Regions from separate parts of the Homo sapiens genome. Here region 2 is linked to region 1. The links are contacts of gene promoters, found by promoter capture Hi-C in blood cells and fetal thymus (Javierre and others, 2016). All regions are on one chromosome and are shown on one strand. The core of a region is centred on a gene start or on the middle of the fragment in contact, and the rest is flanking DNA. Distances in the headings are between cores, read along the strand shown.

Region 1 (4,647 bases), core at 1,150-3,649:
TTAATTATATCTCAATAAAGCTGTTTAAAAAAGAATTCTGAGTGGAATTGGCCAGATACAAAAAAGACTAAGATGGCAAATTTTATGATATCTTACTCCAATTTTTTAGAAACATAATTCAGATCACGTTTCCCTAACAACTCTCCAACAGCTTCCCATCTCCCTCAGAATGAAAGCCCCAATTTTCAATATAGCCCATAAAGTCCTACACATTCTGGCCCCTTTCCCTTTCTGGCCTGACCTCTGACCTCCTCTCCGCTCTGCTCCAGCTCACTAGGCCTCTTAAGTTGCTCTCTGAACATAAAGAGGCAGGTTCCCCCAGGGCCTTTGTACTTTCTTCTCCTCCAGAGAACGTCAAGGTAAGTTCTCTCACTTCCTTGAGCTCTGGACTCAAAAATTCCCTTCTCAGCGAGGACGTCCCTGACCACTTATTGTAAAACTGCAGCTCCCTACAGCCCCCCACCCACAACACACACACACACTCTTCATCCCCCTTTCCTTTTTAATCTCTATTTTCACCTTCTGTCATCCTATAATTTTACTTTTTGCCTGTCTCTTTCCACTAAAATGTAAGCTCCAAAAGGAGAGAGATGTTTGTCTGTTTTGTTCATTGTTGGTATCTCTAGTGCCTAGAGCAGTCCTTAATAAACATTTGTTGGATTAATAAAGGGAGACCACTGTGGGGGAAAAAAAATAAAAGAAAATAAAATTTTAGCTGAAGAATGCAAGCCCCTTTAAATTATCAGGCCCAGAGAGGCATTAGAATGAAAAAACAGTCCCGTCTCACTCCCGGTCTGAGCTGGATAATTATCTCTTAAAGCCCACCTGCTATATGGGCTCTAGACTGGAACCAAGAAGCCATAAAATGCCATATGCTGGACACGATAACTCATACCCTATGAGTTACAGTGTACAGCCAATCACTAAGCAATGGTATCTCTGTAAACCAATAACAATTCCTGACCAACTTTGTCTCAGCCCACTCTTCCCCTTCGCCTTTAAAAACCTGCTTGTAACCAAGGCTGAAGGAGCACTCCCCAAGGCAACTGGGAAATGAGTCCTGGGCAGCTGTCCTCATTTTGGCTGAAGTAAACACTTTAAATTATAATTTTGTGCCCCAGCCTCTTCCTTTTAGGTAGACACCACTATTCAATGACATCAAGATCTGAACTGTCCTACTTATCCCAATATCCCACCCCTAAAAAGAAATGTACCGAACCATAAAAAGCCTGAAGTACTCCGACTTACAGACTCCTGTATTAGCATCCTAAGAATTATATTACCCTCTTCAATAGGGAGTAGTATTTTTCATATCAAACCTAGCCTGAGAACAACTGAGATTCAACTAGGAAAAAAAGAAAAGAAAATCCATTAAAGACTGAGTGATTTGAACTCAAAAATATCCATCATCACTTGCTAAATCATAGACAGCAGGTTATTTCCCTCGACTTTGCTGTGCAGACCTGTAGTGGCTCAATTTCTGCCATAATAAAGGCCGTACTAGAAAGAGCAATCCTAACTAAGCGCGCAAGGTAAACATCAAGCTGGGGCCGTCAGGGGCGGGGAAACACTTTCTGAATGGCGGAAGCTCCGAGAGACGCCTTTCCCAGCTGCTCCAGAGGGGAAAGGAAAAGGGAGAAAGTCTGTTTTTCCAGAATCTCCCAAACACAGCCCAGGGGCCTGCTCCGCGGGCCTAAGCGCCTCCACGTGTCTCAGAAGCCTAGCACTATAGATACCCCGGGGCACGGAGCTGGGAAAACGGGAATAGGAAGACACTTTACCCCGAGAAGATCCAGTCCAACAGGTCTTCTTCAGCCGGATGACTGTGGAGCGCCACCACAAGCAGGGCCTGCAACCCAGGCATCCAGGCTAGACACCAAATCAGCAAACTTTATTCCCGCGCTGCCGAGTACAAGCCGGCGCCTCCCCGGCGCACACAGTACACATCAGCTCCGGGAGACCTACCCGACCCGCCCCTCCAGCGCCGTCCCCGCCCCCGTTCCTGCCCCACCCCTTTCCCCGCCCCCGGCCCGGCTCGCCTTTCTCGCGGCGCTGCAACCCTCCCACCACAGCCCATCCAGCCCCGCCCAGCGCGCCGCGGTGCGCATGCGTGGAGGCCCTCGCTGCCGCTGAGCACCTCGGGAAGTGTAGTCTCTTCGCAGGTGCGGCTGGGCAGCTAGAGTCCTGCATCCCGGTGGAATCCGGAGAAGTGAGAACATTCCCGCCGCCCGGTCCTCATTCCCATCTTCCCACCTGTCCAGTCCCCTCGCACTCCCGCTGCACCCCACGCGCCGGGCTTCAGTCAGAGAGTGCACTGAGGAAGAGCGGAGACCCCCTCTTCCCCTCAGCAGGCTGTGCCGGGGGAGGCGGGGTCCACCGCCCGCCCCCCGCCGTCGCTCTCCCCGCCTCCCCTTCCCTCCCCTCCTGGCGGGTGCGGGGCCGGTGTCCGAAGTCAGGCGGCGGCCCCCGCAGCGGCCGCAGGAGGGGCGGCTGCGGTGGGCGCCGCGGGCGATGCCCCTGCCCGGCTGCTCCGGCGGGGGGCAGTGCGAGCGGCGGCGGCGGGGGAGGAGGCGGGGGGCGGCGGCTGCGGCGGCTGCAGCAGAGGGGCCGAGAGCTGGCGGTGGCGGCGGCGGTGGTCGTGAAGGGCATCGGCGGCGGCGGTGATGGCAGAGATGATGTGAGTGCCCGCCGGCTGGAGACCTGGGGCCGCGGAGCGCGGGACGGGCGGCGGCGGCGTGCGGGAGCGGCCCCGGGGGCGGCGGAGGGATGCGGGGAGCGCGGGCAGAGCCGGAGCGGCGGCCGCCAACCGGCCGGCAGTGGCTGGAGCCCCGCGCTGCGGCGCCGGGGGAGCCGGGCCCGGCGTGGGGGTCGCGGGCGGCGGCGGGGCGGTCAGGCCGAGGGGCGTCTGCGATTGTTCTCAACACCCCTCCCCCACCCCATCCCGTGTGTCTGTTTGTTACTTGCAGCTGAAGATGGAAAGAGCCAGGCGAAGGGGAGGCGGCGGCGGCCGCGGCCGCGGAGGCAAGAATGTAGGGGGCTCTGGCCTAAGCAAGAGTAGACTCTATCCCCAGGCCCAGCACTCCCACTACCCCCACTACGCGGCCTCAGCCACCCCTAATCAGGCCGGGGGCGCAGCCGAAATCCAGGAGCTGGCCTCCAAACGAGTGGACATCCAGAAAAAGAGGTTTTACCTAGACGTGAAGCAAAGCTCCCGGGGCCGCTTCCTAAAGATAGCCGAAGTCTGGATAGGGAGAGGCCGGCAGGACAACATCAGAAAGAGTAAACTGACCCTCTCCCTGTCTGTGGCAGCGGAGCTGAAGGACTGTCTAGGGGACTTCATCGAGCACTATGCCCACCTGGGCCTGAAAGGCCACCGGCAAGAGCATGGCCACAGCAAAGAGCAAGGCTCCAGAAGGAGGCAGAAGCACTCGGCACCCTCCCCACCAGTCTCGGTGGGGTCCGAAGAGCATCCTCACAGTGTCCTGAAAACAGACTATATCGAGAGGGACAATAGGAAATATTACCTAGACCTAAAGGAAAATCAGCGGGGTCGCTTCCTACGGATTAGACAAACCATGATGCGGGGGACTGGCATGATAGGTTATTTTGGCCACAGTTTGGGCCAAGAACAGACTATTGTCCTCCCAGCACAAGGAATGATTGAGTTTCGTGATGCCTTGGTTCAGCTGATTGAAGACTATGGCGAAGGAGACATAGAAGAACGAAGAGGTGGAGACGATGACCCGCTTGAACTCCCAGAGGGGACTTCTTTCAGAGTGGACAATAAAAGGTTCTACTTTGATGTGGGCTCTAATAAATATGGAATTTTCCTGAAGGTAAGTGAGGTGAGACCACCTTACCGTAATACTATTACTGTTCCATTCAAAGCTTGGACAAGGTTTGGGGAGAATTTTATCAAGTATGAAGAAGAGATGAGGAAAATTTGCAACAGCCATAAAGAAAAGAGAATGGATGGCAGAAAGGCCAGTGGTGAAGAACAAGAATGCCTCGACTAGAGTGAAATTGAACTCCATCAGGCAAAATTTAAAATCACAAATTGGCTAAAAGTACTGATCCATTATCCTTTGAAGAAGTTTTTCCTCTTTTTTGGCCCGTTGTTATTAGTAATACCTCTAGTAGTTGATACTTCAGGAAGTCTGATTCTCATGTTATGTTACACATAGATCACTATAATTCTTACGGGAATTCCAACCTTCCCAGAGCTAAATAGTTTAGCTGCTTCAACTGCTCCAGACTATTGAAGTATGCAAATCAGCACAAAATGTGACATTCTGACATTCTAAATACCATAACTAAGATTTACATTGCACTATGACATAATCCCGAAAAAAGATACATATACTTAAATAGAAGTGTGACTTTCCCCCAAAAGTATTTCAATTCTACTTCATTAAAAGCTGCTAAGCTTACCTGTAGGGCAGTTACCACAGAAACAGAAATTGACCTCCGGTATATATAAATATTTACTTATAAAAGTACAAGTAGACGTATATTGTCCGTTGAATAACTGAATATACCATCAAAGGATCAAATCTTATTACCTAATTAAACCTTAAAAATATAATGTCATAATATTTCTTAAGAATACTATAGTATTCTATAATTTCAAACTTTGTGGTAACCCTA
Region 2 (4,647 bases), core at 937-3,436, 1.8 Mb after region 1:
AGGGGGCCAGGCGGGTGCCCCGCGGCGAGTTCCTTCCACCTGGGCGTCCTGAGATTGGGGTCAGGTGGAGGAGATGCCCTTTTCGTTGTTTTTGGACAGTTGAGAAAGTTTTGGTTTTGCCTGAAGTCTCATTCATCATCTCTCAATAAATAGCTAAAGTGCCAAGATTCTTGTGGAATTGTATCTTTCTGACATTCTCTTAACTCTGCAGGGAGTGTAGAGAAGGCAGATAAACCGAGTACATTTAAATAATCTGTAGACCCGGGGAGTGGAGAGAACCCCAAAAGTCAGGGGAGGAGGTGGGCTGGGTCTTGGCTTTGATAGTCAAAGCAGCATGACTGGGTGAGTTGCTTTAAATAAGATAATGTGTTTGAAAACGCTTTATATACAAGGTCCTGTCATTGGGGGTCACTATTACTGTCTCAGGAGATGACTTTGCCATTGATGAGACTTTGAACTAATTAGAATCATTTAAGTACCAGAGACAAAGTTGTAGCTTCTTAGCAAAATCAAGTGTTGTTTAATTTTTATGTAGAAATTATAGGTTGTTTTCCTCTTCTTTGCTTTCTTTTGTATATATTGAGACATACAGATCAACCAGTTGACATAAGCTTTGTTGGTTTGTCCTTCTCGGGGAAATTGGTTTCTCGCTTGGAGTTATCTCATCTATGGGAATTGTTTTGTCCTGTTCCTGCTAGGTCCGATTAAAGCTGTCAGGTGAGTTTTTTTCCCTAAGAACTTAATTACTTTAAGTTCTCAACTAGTGCAAGATTGAGTCCTGCTTTGCTTCACTAATCTCGTGCTCTGACAACACACAATAAACGTCGATACAATTCTGAAAATTTTCAGAAGCATCAGTTTTTAAATATTCAGGTATCTGTATTTCAGTTTACTTCCAGTTTACCATCACAATAATTTAAAGAAAGAAGCCAAATGAAACATAACTTATCTGGGAATTGATTCTGAAAGGATGGTTTCAGCACATTCTTAAAATTTCCTTTTCACAAAAAACTTGGAAATGTCAGTGCTAAAAAGAGGCCGCTAACCAACCACCACAAAAGACATCTCAGATATTTAGAGCCCTTTCCCTCTCCCTTTCCCCATTGGTTTCACTTTTTGAGGGAAATTCTTATGCTTTTCTCTTATAAATTGCCATTGATAAGGTTGTAATAAACATCAGAGTTTAGAGGAAGGCAAAGAATAATAGTTTTAGCTGTGGAACGGATGTGAGCTGATCCTTGGGTTCAACAATCATTTTGAAATTGAGGTTTACCCATAGATTCCATTAGCCTATATAGAGAAGTGCATTATTTGGTGTAAAGTACCTCCTGTGTTCACTTAGTGCCCATTCTTAGCCTTATATTTCCTGACGTGCATGTGGACTTCTTTTTTCAGTGATTACCACACATAAATTTGTTCTTTTCCATTTTTGTTATGAAGTAATTGTTCACATAAATATAAAGGTTATTATGGAATACAGTGTGGTGGGATTGTAAATCCAGTGATTTTTAAAAATTGGTGTCCAAAGTTTGTATAAAAAGACTAAAACAGGCCAGGCACGGTGGCTTACGCTTATAATCCCAGCACTTTGGGAGGCCGAGGCGGGTGGATCACCTGAGGTCAGGAGTTCGAGACCAGCCTGCCTAACATGGCAAAACCCTGTCTCTACTAAAAATACAAAAAATTAGCCGGGCGTGGTGGTGGACGCCTGTAATCCCAGCTACTAAGGAGGCTGAGGCGGGAGAATAGCCTGAACCCAGGAGGCGGAGGTTGCAGTGAGCCAAGATCGTGCCACTGTGCTCCACCCTGGGCGACAAGAGTGAAACTCTGTCTCAAAAAAAAAAAAGACTAAAACAAAACCATATTTCTTTCCAGTAATTTCCTTTTTTTTCTTCCTTGTATGATCTGTAGGAACCTTTCCAGTAATTTTGAAAAGAATATTACTTTGAACAGTTATTAGTATTATGTAATACTGTATAATTATGACAAAGAGTAAAACTTGAGTCCTAATAGTTTCTATCATATAGGTGCCGGAAGCAACCTTATAAATCGCTATCTATAAAAGAGGACGGGGATGAGAATGGGTTACTGTGATGATGTAGTTTTACTGTGTAGACTCTGATATTTGGAATCACATTAGCTATCTTTTGAGGAAAATCTGAAAATTTCCAGAAAACTCTGGTGTATTAAGTTCTTGTGTGATTCAGTGGTTGTGCTTAGGTGTTTGGAGTTTTAAGGTGGTTAGCTGATTTATTATTTAACAGTTATCCTCGAAGTGAGAGTATTTTAGTCTTTCTGCTAAACTGTATGTGGGTTTGGGAACCTTAGTTATTTGAAGGTTAAGCATTAGGCCCTAATTCAGTAACAGGAAGAGTTGTAATGGCTAATTTGTCAGAAATATTTGTCTAGTCATACATTTATTTTAACATTCCACTAACAAAAGGAAAAAGAAAAAGAAAAAAGTTCACATACTTTCTTCATCCTAACAGCTTTTCATTTCCATGCCAGTTTGTGCTCACACGTGTATGTAATTTTACATAATTTTAATATTACAACCTTTATTTTGCCTTTCTTCATCTGAGATGCAAAGCTAAACAACTAGAGAAAAGGGTAAATTTTTGTCACAAGATCTTCAAGTTCTATTTGCAGATATCGTTTGTTTTCCAGTGTTGTTGTTCAGACTGTACAGCTAAACAGATAATTCTTGTGTGCTTCCATGTGCCGCACAGAACACCCATTCATACATTATTAACCCGTCTAATCATTACAGGAGCTGAAAGTTCTGTAGCCGTAATTGGTGGGATTAGTTAGATCAGCAACATTCTCCTTTCCAGGAATTTGATGTTTTCTAACTTTAGGTGGCTTAAAAAACATTTAATAGGTAAGCAAACATTGATTGAGTGCCTGCCAGGTATCTGGCTTATATTAGATAGGATGAGATCTTAATGCTTTTCCTCAAGGGATTTCCTGTGTGTAAATCTGTATAAGATCAACTACCAAAATAAGTAAATATCTATAAAAGGTGTTTGGAATACCTTTGTTACCTACCTAGCCTAAGGGGGTAGAACCGGGAAACGAAAGAAATGAAGATAGAAACAGTGAAATAGATTATTTCAGGTGTTAGGGAGAATGGACAAGAAATTTATTTCAGGAGATATTTCAAATGAGTTTACTTGGCATTTTCCAATACTTGATGTGGTGAAAGACACAGAAGTATGTAATAATGTCTAATAGAGTCAATGTAGAGTCAGTGCCTTGGTAATCATGATCTAGTATCTCAATGGAGGGACTATTATACAGCGATTAAAATGATGACAGTCAAAACCATTTAACAAGGAAGATCGTTTTCTCTGTTAGTGGAAAAAGAATGTAAAGCTGTACGTGTAACTGATCAAATCTATTATTATTACTATGTAAAAATGTATACAGGAATGGGCAAGAGCTAGAAAGAAACATGAAAAAGTGAAATTGATTGTTCTTGTTAGGGGGATTTTACTTCCTAAAAGTTTTCTTAGGGTTGCCTGTTACCATCATATTCAGTTTCTTAAAGCATGCTTTATGGTTCATGCCTGTGAGGAAATGACTGTCATGGGCTTGAAAAGAAAATGCCTGTGAAAAGATTAGATTAAAAGGTAAACAGCTGTAGCAGGCTGCTAGTTACTAAGTGCCAGGTGAATGACAGGGAAATAAGGGAATCGAGAGGAGTTTAGACTTCACTGAGGAGGGTGAACTTTGGTTGGACTTCCAGGGAGGAAGCTTATGATGTGAGCACGGGAGAGGGGATGGCATGTATTCTTTGAGGAGGAAGTATGGCCTGAGAGTGAGGACACAGAGACTAGAATGAGTAAAGCAGGTTTAGGCAGCAGAGATGAGATCTGCCTGCCAGAATGGAGATTCTGTGAGGATAGCTAGAGAATGATGGGACAGGAAAGGTCAGGTGGATTGCAGGAAGCCCTGAAAGCAGCCAGGCCAGAAGTCCGGACCTAGGGTGGCTGGTCCACGCACTCTGTTTTGCTTCTTGGGACCTTGTATGGGGCTTGGACACAAACACAACGGGGAAAGATTGCTAGATCCCAAAGCAAGATTGGAAGCTTCAGTAGATGACCGATTTCTGGCATAGCTGGGCAGGATTTAAAAGCGCTTGCTGAAAATGAAGCCTTGTGAATGGGAAGCATAAGGAAGTCGGTCAAAATTAAGCAGCTGTGAATCAACAGGCAAAGGAAAAACCCAGCAAGTGCGAGGAAGCTTAGAAGATGCTGGTAGTCAGTGAAGATAGAGGTGACCCTTAGGAAATGAAGGGACAGGAGAAGGTGGCTTTGACCCCTGGGGTCATTGGTGATTCTTCAGTATTCTCAGAGAGATCACTGACAGATGTGGAGCCAAGGAGGACCGTGGATGGAAATTTCTGGCAGTATTTGCTAAAACAGAAGATACTTGTTTTGTCAGCATCTGCTTGACATGCTAATGGTGAATGAGACACACATGTATTACAACATTGTTTTGTTTCTACTGTCAACTCAGTGACTGAAATTTGGATATATGCACATAGGGCCAGAGGCATTTTGAGAAGAAGGTATACTTTTAAATTCTTTTCCCCAAATCTCCTGTTTTTTGTTTGTTGGTTGGTTTCTTTGTTTTTATTTATTT

The links. The method cuts DNA at HindIII sites, captures the fragments that hold promoters and counts their contacts. A CHiCAGO score of 5 or more calls a contact.
Region 2: a fragment that was not itself captured here is called in contact with the fragment with the promoter of PURG in region 1 in 1 of 17 cell types (non-activated CD4 T cells); the score reaches 5.5 in non-activated CD4 T cells.

The regions. Positions count from the first base shown.
Region 1 is chr8:31,031,108-31,035,754 of GRCh38, reverse strand. It overlaps PURG (purine rich element binding protein G), which reads left to right and starts at 2,399. Exons shown (of 2, transcript NM_001323311.2): 1 at 2,399-2,677; 2 at 2,967-4,647. The coding sequence starts at 2,973. The coding sequence ends at 4,016. It overlaps WRN (WRN RecQ like helicase), which reads right to left and starts at 1,945. Exons shown (of 35, transcript NM_000553.6): 1 at 1,782-1,945. RefSeq lists enhancers at 788-837, 1,671-2,192 and silencers at 908-977, 1,948-2,207, 2,368-2,417. The HindIII fragment of the contact is 5,494 bases long and covers 1-3,890 here.
Region 2 is chr8:29,257,821-29,262,467 of GRCh38, reverse strand. All of the region lies in intron 1 of KIF13B (kinesin family member 13B), which reads left to right. Among named protein-coding and RNA genes, the nearest start is that of KIF13B, 2.9 kb to the left of the region's middle. RefSeq lists a silencer at 1-20. The HindIII fragment of the contact is 3,145 bases long and covers 614-3,758 here.